Linked DNA regions of Homo sapiens: region 1 is linked to region 2. Evidence: promoter capture Hi-C in 16 types of primary human blood cells and fetal thymus (Javierre and others, 2016). All regions are on one chromosome and are shown on one strand. The core of a region is centred on a gene start or on the middle of the fragment in contact, and the rest is flanking DNA. Distances in the headings are between cores, read along the strand shown. Region 1 overlaps ENOX2 (ecto-NOX disulfide-thiol exchanger 2). Region 2 holds the start of ELF4 (E74 like ETS transcription factor 4).

Region 1 (4,597 bases), core at 7-2,506, 790 kb after region 2:
CCATTACAGGATTTTTCCTATGTATGCCTACACAGATGTGTGTGTGCGTGTGCGTGTGTGTGTGCGTGTGTGTGTGTGTATTATGTATATGTTTTTAAACTGGGATCTGTCACTCTGTACTGAGAGTTCTATGATGTGAATTTTCTCTTAATATATCAAAAACAATTTTCCACATCATTAAATATTGTTTGGTAAAATCAACTTACAAGGCTACTTAGTAATCCATTCTATAAATGTACCACAATTGATTTCATTCAAATCCCTAGTATTGTACATTTAAGATGTTCTTTTTTTTCTTTTTTTTTTTTTTGTTGTTTTTGCTATTAGTATAAACAACTCTGGGATAGATGTCCTGAGTATTAAATTTTTGGAAACATCATGATTGTTTCCTCAGCATAGAGCTCTAGAAGTTGAAGTGGTAGGTTAAAAGCTGTATTCTATTAAGGTTTCTGATACATATTGACGAATTGCTCTCCAGAAGAGCTGTATCAAATTATAGTCCCAGCAGCAGAGTCTATGAGTAGGAGATGAACTTGAGAGTGATGTCAAGGACGGAGTGTACTGGACTTGGGTGGGTAGAAGGAAGGATGTTTCCTGGCAAAGTATCAGGGCAGGAGGAAGATGAACTCTGTCAAGAGCAGCAAAGTAATGGGCAGGGCTAAGGAATAGGTGCCTGGATAGGTAAATGATAGGAAAGAAAAAGGTAAGATAACCAGGGGAGAGTGAAGAAAAGAGGGAAAAAGTAGGTCTTTCATGAAATTATGGGCACTTTAATTTACTCCTTTCTTCAGCAAAAGTAGCAAATGTAGCAAACAGCTAGTCTTTTCATAGCATTTGGCACTCTGTGCTACCAAGGTCCCCAGTTATATTCATGCAAATCTGTTTATCAATTCTTTTCACCCAATAACCATTTATTAGGTGACTACCATGTGTCAAGTGCTCTTCTGGATGCTATGGGTATGGAGATGAATGAAACCTGGTCCCTGCCCTCAAGGAGTTCACAGTCTAGTGGGGAACACAGAGACATCCACAGACCGACACCCTACAGTGTGGTACAGGCTAGGACGGAGGTAACTAAGTGCAGGGTCCTGTGGAAGCCCGAGGCCTAACATTGCCTTGTGCGTGCATTCATGTATGTTGGGCAAGGGCTGTCGGGAAGGCTTCACAGAGGTGTTGACATATGAGCTGAGTCTTAAAGGCTGAGGAATTTCTTGCATGCCTAAGGGTCACAGATCATGGTCATATTCCTAATCAGTGCCTTGAATATTTGTGCTACTGCTCTCAAGGACACTGAGTAAGGTGGGAAGGATGTTTGTGTGTAATCCAAATCCACTCGAGTGGTAACTATAGCTTCCATTGTAATCTTAATGAACATAGAAACATAGCATGTTTTGGCAATATTATTGCTCACCATACAATATAAAGGACAAGAGGCAAGGGGGGCATGCAGACTTTTAAAACAATTCTGGTAACACTGACAAAATAATATTAACATCCACCAAGTCCTAATAATTTTACCTCCTAAATGTTTCTCAAATCTCTTCGCTCCGCTCACGTCACTACTCTTGGGTCTTTATTGTCTCTCTGTGGAACAGAGTAGCAGCCTCATCATATCCACCTCCACTGTATCCTTCCCACTGTCATTTTCCTTACAGTAAAAATCTGATCGTGGTGCTCTTCTAAAACATGTTAATGGTTTCTTATGGCCTACAAGCAGCACTTCCCAAATTTCAGTCTGAGTATTACTTAGTGATTTTTACCATATTCACACACAATGTGTACTATTACTACTTAATATTTGTCTTTAAATGAACTGAAAACTGGTTCACTTTCTATTTTTATGAAGTAAAATCCAAAGTAATCTTAGATGTGATGGCTTAGTTCAGTTTTATGTTTTTTAAGACATATTTGAACATGTAACTAGTAAAATTAAAATGTTTGTGGGAGCACAGTGTAACTACCACTGGCAGATGCCCTACGTTTTGAGAACCACTGACCTATGGGGGCACATTCCAACTTAGGATTGCAATCAAGGTTCTTTGCAAATCAGCCCCAACCTCTTTCCAGACTCTTCTCCTACCCATTACAGTTTCCTTTTACTCAACTATCTGCACTCCAACCATGCTGAATTCTTCCACATTGAATGAACATGCCCTACTCTTATACAGCCACACATCTTTCACAGACTGACTCCTCTATCTGAAATGCCTCCCCTCCACTCCTTCCCTGCCTGGGGCAAACTCACTATCCTTCAAGACCTATCTCATGTCACCTCCTCATGGAAGCCTTCTCCCCGAGTCTCCCTTACAGTGAGTCACACCTTCCTTTATCCCTCCATAGCATTTTGTACCTGTCTCTGTTATACTACACACTACAGTATCTCAGAACTGTGGGCATCCAGCTCCCCAGCTAGACCCCAGGAAGAGTTCACACCTTGTACTTCATTGTTTCTCCAACACTTCACGTGGGCAGAGGTCATGAAAGAGATCTAGTGTCCCAGGTAACTTCTTAAAATGCTAAAATAAAATACATCCAAAGTGCTATCAAGGTCCAAATAGCTTAGAGGTATGATATGTGTTATAAAGAGAATCATCTAATTCAGAAATAGCCGTACTGACTATGGTTTTGGCAGACACAATTAGCTACAGTTGCAATGACAGTTAATTTGGTTTTGGCAGCTACTTTACAGCAAATACATTCTGACATAGAAATTTTAAGTGAATCATTTGGGTTTTGGCCAGGATGATGAACTATACCTATCTCTCCTTACCACAACTGGAAAGTCAAGAACAAGAAAGAACATTGGGAGCAGCAAACCATGTTGAACAGAGCATGGGCTTTGGAGTCAGAAATCTGTACACCCAAACCTCAACTCAACTTATAATCTATGTGACTTTAAGTAGATTGTTTAACTTCTGTGCATTTTAGTGTTTTCTTCTAGAAAAAGAAACAGGAATAATAGTACCTACTTCATAACACTCAAGATAATGCAACAAAGTATTTATGATGATGACTAGGACATTATGTGGGTTCAATAAATAGCAGTCATTATTGTCACCCAATGAGATGACTACAGTTCAGATAATGTGATGCACGGGGACAGCAAATGCATTTCTTAAGAAAATATATCGATGTCTCTAGGCTTTAAAGTTGACAGCTATAGACTGTAGCTAAGAATAGCTACAAACAAAACATCTGCAAGACAAGCTTCTTCTTGGATTTAAACTCACACCTGGAACATACCATCACACTTCTTTGTGTTCTCCAAGAATTGATCTCAAATCAGGTTCCCTAGGATGAAAAGAAAAATCATCCAATCTTAATTTTTGCCTTCAATTTTATTTGATACAGAATAATATCCAAACTATGTGTATGTTTCAAAGTATCATGTTATTATGACCCCAAGCTTCTCCACCCTATTTATTTCCCAGTATATTTGTGCTGATATCTTTTATTCCAATCAGGCAAGCCCACCTGTCTCACAGTGCTCCCTCTTCTGTTTACCCTTCTCAAAGTCCAATCTCAGTAGCAGGAAGCATTTTCTCCCTCCTCTTTGACAACTTCAAATCCCCTGTACTCTGCTGGAGCCCAGATTAAAATTCACCTCCTTCACAAAGCCTGAAAGCCGGATGAGGGCTTCAGCACTTCCCGGGTTAGGCTTGAACTTCCATAGATGAACTCACCACCCCCATCAGTATGCTCTTCCACTGACCCCTCTTAGCGTTTTTTGCACACGTTTGTAATAATACAATGATTAATATGGTCTGTTTCACACGGTCTACTTTATTCTGTAGAATAAAGGTGTGCCCCCTAAATGTTTGTCAACATTAGTGCTATCAGTCTTTGCTGGAAACCCCTAAAGCGCTGGATTTTTATAACCAGTCTAACTTGCCTTTTACTCTCACCAGAACCCTGCACTGAACCTTAAACACACATTTCTCAAAAGCAAGATTCCTTCCCTCTTTTGCTTCCCATCCCTTCTAGAAATTGAGGGGAAACTCTCCCCACTTCAAAGACCTGGTGGGGGAAGTGGCAGGTGGCTGAGGGGCCAGTAAAGAGATGGCGATCAATTAAGGAGGCAAAAAGAGAAAGTTTGAAAAAAAAAAGTCACGCCCTGAGCGTGGCAAGGAATTCCCATGCCCCAAAGAAAATGGGGAGTGTAGCGCAGGGAGGGTTATGTGCCCAAACCTGAAATACAAATTGAGGGAAAAGAGGAAAGAGATCACCCAATTCCTGCGGTAAGAATTAGAGTCCAGTCACCGCCTAGGCAAAACCCTGGACGCAAACCCCAACTTCGGACCTCTGAGGAGGCACAGAGCCAGGGGGAGGGGGGCGGCGTCGTGGGAAAAAAAAAAAGGGGCGGGCGAGTTGGACCAAAAAAAAAAAAAAAAAAGAGCAAAGACAGCGCGCTCCCGGGCTCAAGAGAACTGGCGCCTAGAGCTCAAAAGCCCACCCCCGACTCCCAGTCCCGATACCCCCTCCCCTGCAGAGGTGGAGCTGGGTGGAGTTAGGCGCTGAGGACCGCGGCCCCGGAAGCACCCTCCTCCCTAGGCCCCCTCAGTCCCACAGTCCCCAGCCACGGCCACCGGGGCTTTCT
Region 2 (4,846 bases), core at 1,123-3,622:
TTGAACCTGGGAGGCGGAGGTTGCGGCGAGCCAAGATCGTGCCATTGCACTCCAGCCTGGGCAACAAGAGTGAAACTCCATCTCAAAAAAAAAAAAAGAACTGGAGGTAAGGAGTTCAAGATTACAGTGAGCTGTGACTGTGCCACTGCACTCCAGCCTGGGTGACAAAGTGAGACCCTGAATTAAAAAACAAAAACCAAAAAAAAAACAACACTCTAAACGCAAAAACAAAAACTGGATGTAAAATTACATTGCGGGGGTAGGGGATGTGGAAAGGAAGAAGGCCAAGCTTAAGAGCAGAAGAGCAGAGGTTTCCCCAGGAAAGCAAACTCCTCAGCCTGTGTCTAGCTGGGTCTGTGCGGCACAGGGCCTGATTTTTGCAAGATGAGGGGCATTTTGGACATGCTATCACTCAGGCCCCTAGAGACAGACCACAGCACCCTCTATTTTAGATCCCAATATATGCCAGAGAAGACAGAAGCCACTGTGTCACCACTTAGCACTAGGTGAGGGAGAGTGAATTTTGGGCCCCTAGGTTGTCCAGGGGTGGGCGCCAGTTCCTGAGCAACCACCGAGCAAACAGTGCAGCACAGGGAGGAATGCCAGACATAGTTGCAAACAAGCCACTCCTTCGGCTCACAGCAAGAGGCTGGGTGAGGGTGGTAGCATGGAGCCTGCTTCATGGTCCCCCCCACCCCTGCCCCCAACAAGAGATCCCAGGCTCTGAATCCAGCCCCAAAAACAACCAGATGCAAGGTAGCCTCTTCCTCACACCAGCTGGCTGGGATAGGAAGTCCTCCCTGATAATCTTCACTGAACTCCAGAGAGCTCCCCCTACGCTGCTCCTGTACTGGATGCACTGAATCTGAATTAATGGTTGAGAAAGCACTTTATAACCAGGAAAACCCAGTGTAACTAACTGCAAGGAAGGACTGGCATTCTTGCTGGGCATATGTGTTCCCCGGGCATTTTCAGTGCCAAAGTCTCCCCAAAGGGAAGAGCTAGAACTGTTCCCTTCACCCACCTCCAACCTGGCACTCGGGCCAGGGGTCAGCTGGCAGGGGGTGAGTCCCCAATGGGCGTGCCCACCAGCTGTTGGGGCTGAGCAGTGGTGGTTCAGGCCCTGGGGTGGTGACCTCACTTCCGCTCCTACCTCCCCACCTCCCCAGCACTCCTCCCATTTGAGGCCCCACCAGGCCAAAATCGAGAAGTCCAAGGTTAACTGTTCTTTCCCACTTTAAGAGCTAATTAAAATAATTAGCCACAATGAACTGTCAAACATTAACCAGAAGAGGCTGCAGGACCAGACAGGCCTCTATCACAGGCCGAGGGATGAGGGGCAGGAATCAAATGGCCATCAAATCCCTCAGCTGGGGTATGGTGCGGGGCGGGGGCGGCCCAGGAGGACCTCGCTGAGCCGAGGTGCCAAGGGGTCAGGAGGTGACTCTGGTCAGGAAGGTGATGTGCAGGCATACGGTGGTGAGAAAAGGGAGTCAGGGTTAGGGTGCGGTGGAGGAGCCAGGAATTCATAAAGCGGTCACCGCCTCAGCAGTCCCTCAAGCCTCCAAAGCAAGGCGCTGGCGTGAGGGGACCCCGCACGGTGCGGCTGCTGAATCCCCTAGGCGGCGGCCCAGGAGGGAACCCGGAGGCGGGAGAGTCGGGGAGAGCGGGAACGCGGGAGCGGGAAGGCTGGCGGCTGGCTCACACGGAAACTCCGGCCCCTGCCAAGAGGTCTCTATTTTGGCGATCCAGTTCTCCACATCATAGGTCTGCGTGCGCGTGTGTGCGTGTGACCCTAAAGCCCTGGCCCCAGAAGCCCCGGGGGCAGTCGGATCCATCTAGCAGCTCCGCCGCGGTCCGCCCCACCTCCTCTGCCCTCGGGCGCCCAGCTTCTGGGGGCCCGCTGTCATGATCGGCCCCGTCACGGAACCCAGGCTGCCGGGGGCGAGGGAAAACAGGGGCCCCTACCCCGACTCCCCGACTCGGGGAATCCATTCCACTTCCATCCCGGGATCGGGAGCCCGGGTTCTCCATCACACGCGCGGCGGGGCGACTCCAGGGCGGCTCGCGACACTCCGCGACTCTCCCGCCCTTCCCTGGGCCCCCAGCCCCACGCCGGGGCCCCGGCGCTCTCGATTCCGCCCTCAAGCAAACTTTTCCACGTCCCCCAAGGCTCGAAGAACCGGCGCCATCGACGTACCTGAGGCCGAGTGGCTCACGGGCCCAGCTCGGTCGCCGGGCCGGGGTCTGTCTCCGTGGTCCCCGCTCCGGGGGCCGAGACGCGGGTCCCCAGCCCCGCCAGCCCGTCCTCTCCCCTCGGAAGCCGGGCCGGGCGAGCGGCGCCAGGAACTCGGCGCCGGCGAAAGGAGAAGTGGAAGTTGAGCGCGGCGCCCGGTCGGTCCCCGCGGCCGCCGGGGCCGCCGTCCCCCGCCCTCCTCCCCGCCCGCCCTTCTTCCCCGCCCGCCTGCCCCCGCCACCCCGCGCCCGTGACTCACCTCGGCGCCGGGGCAGGCTGGTCCGGGCGGGCGAGGCGCAGGGCTCTCCCACACTTCGCGCCGCCAATGGCAAGTTGGAGGGAGAGATGCAAATACCAGGTGAGACGGCGGCGCCCCTGATAAAACGGGGCGGGGGGCGGGGTGGAGCGCGCGGGGAGCGGGGCGGACGCCGGGGAGGGCCGGGCCAAGACACGGGGCGGCAGGGGCGCCCGGGGAGGGGGCGCGAACCGGCGCAGACATGCACCGAAACGAGCGAGCGAAAGGGGAAATGCAGTAGAGACACACACGTCCCCGCAGGCGGCGGATGGGGCGGGCGCGAAGGAGGCAGGGCGGGAGGGAGGGAAGAGCCGGAGGGAGGGACCGACGGGAGGGACTGCGGGCGGGCGGGGTGGGGGAGGGAACGAGGGAGGGACGAGGCATCTCGGTGGAAACAGCGCCCGTCCGCCCCGGCCCGCCCGCCGCGGTCGCCAGCACGGCATGGGGAGCCGTGCCAGGGGCCCGCGCGGCCTCTCATTCCCCTCGCGGCTCGCTCGCGCCCGGGGGACCACGAGGCAGGGCGCCCGCAGAGCCCGCGTCGTGCGCCGCGGCCCGGGCGGGCGCTCCCCACTCTGCTTCTAGCCAGCGAGACTCCGAGCTCTCTGCTCGTTCCGCGCCCTTCCCGGTGCGAAGCCCCCATACAACGCCCCGCAGAGAAATCCCTTCCCCGCGGACTCGGGAAGGTTTCGTCCAGCCCCCTCGGCCCGTGCAAGTGGAGACTTGCTTGACGCCTTTGGGCCAAGCCCTGCGCTCCACATTATTGAGCTCCTGGGGTGTGCAGGCCCCAGCGGGAGGGCGGGCCGTGCGGCGGGTGAGGCCGCGAGATGCCCAGAGGATACAATTTTGGAACCATATGCCCGACTCCGCAGAATCCTGGGCGTAACACCTGGGGTGACTGGAGAGTTTCGGCGACTTCTTAGGGAAGTCGAGTCTAGGACTCCTGCGGGAAGTTGGGGTGGGGGACGCTGGCAAGATATGAGTCAGGGGAAGGGCTAGGGGGAGAGGGGCTGGCCCAGCAAGTGCAAAGAGAGCCAGAGTTCGGGTGCTGGAAGAAAGCCCATGCCTACCTTTCTTCCCCTGTCCAAAGCCAGGCTGCTCTGCTCCACGCGCCCACTTGAAAGCCACTCAGGCACGCTCCCCTTCTATCTCCCCTTTGCCCTCTCTGACCTGCCTCAACATCAATACCGCCGCCTACGTGGGTCTGCTGATAGGAGGCTCTGGAGAGAGTGCGCTGGGAATTGTTACTCTGTATAGTTCCACGTGGCCTTTTTGGGGGTGGGGGCAGCAAGGCCTAAGCCTTGGCAGAAAGCATCAAGACTGAAGGAGCCCCAGGGGATGGGGCCTTCTAAAGGGCTTGAGGTTGAAGGACCTACTCAGCCTCCAGCATCGGCCTGCTTCTCCTGCCTTGGGAAAGGATCATCTCAGGCGCAGGACTGGGGGACAGGAGTGGTGGTGGATGATGGCCACAAAGGCAGCTGCAGATTACAAGTTCCCAAGGAAAGATCCTGTGGCTGGACTGGGGCGCCGGCCCCTGAGACCTCCTGGATACTCAGAATCAAGTCCCCAAAACAAGCACTTTGTCTTTTCCAAGCGGGCATGCTTTTCCCAGGGGATTCCAGATCCTGGAGACACACAGTTCTCTGCTGGCCTCTCATCCACGAGGTCCCCTCTCAAATTTGGGGTAGGTTCCGGATGTCCCTAAGCCCTCTTTACCTTGACTTTGAAATTCACGAATGGACAGACACGTCTGCACACGCGTGCACACACACACACTTTCCCATTTTGCTAAGAGCTCAGTGGTCTGTAACCTCAGACAGACCTGGGTTCCTATTCCAGCTCACTATTTACCAGCTGTGTGACTTCAGGCAAGTCACTTAAACTCTCTGAGCCTCACTTTTCTTCTTTAAAACAGAACAAAAACAAAAACTAGGCTGGGTGTGGTGACTCATGCCTGTAATCCCAGCACTTTGGGATGCCGAGCGGGGTGGATCACTTGAGGTCAGGAGTTCAAGACCAGCCTGGCCAACATGGTGAAACCCCATCTCTACTAAAAATACAAAAATTAGCCGGTGTGGTGGTGCATGCCTGTAGTTCCAGCTACTCGGGAGGCTGAGGCAGGAGAGTCACTTGAACCTGGGAGGCAGAGGTTGCAGTGAGCCGAGATCGTGCCACTGCACTCCAGCCTGGATGACACAGTGAGACTCCATCTCAAAAAAATAAATAAATTAAATAAATTAATTTTTTTATTTTTGTTTTTTATTTTTATGGGTACATTGTAGGTGTGTGTATTTATGGGTTACATGAGATGTTTTGAT

The links. Contacts are between HindIII fragments. The CHiCAGO score rates a contact against its expected background, and 5 or more counts as called.
Region 1: a contact is called between a fragment that was not itself captured here and the fragment with the promoter of ELF4 in region 2, in 3 of 17 cell types (naive CD8 T cells, naive B cells and monocytes). The highest score is 5.9, in naive CD8 T cells.

What each region holds. Positions count from the first base shown.
Region 1 is chrX:130,898,441-130,903,037 of GRCh38, forward strand. ENOX2 (ecto-NOX disulfide-thiol exchanger 2) reads right to left here. Exons shown (of 15, transcript NM_006375.4): 2 at 3,244-3,291. Among named protein-coding and RNA genes, the nearest start is that of ENOX2, 2.5 kb to the right of the region's middle. RefSeq lists enhancers at 4,135-4,597, 4,515-4,597. The HindIII fragment of the contact is 3,898 bases long and covers 1-3,205 here.
Region 2 is chrX:130,108,125-130,112,970 of GRCh38, forward strand. It overlaps ELF4 (E74 like ETS transcription factor 4), which reads right to left and starts at 2,373. Exons shown (of 9, transcript NM_001421.4): 1 at 2,201-2,373. It also overlaps a transcript of RAB33A not described here. RefSeq lists silencers at 2,255-2,324, 2,405-2,554, 2,805-2,854, 2,865-2,914, 2,985-3,104. The HindIII fragment of the contact is 7,600 bases long and covers 288-4,846 here.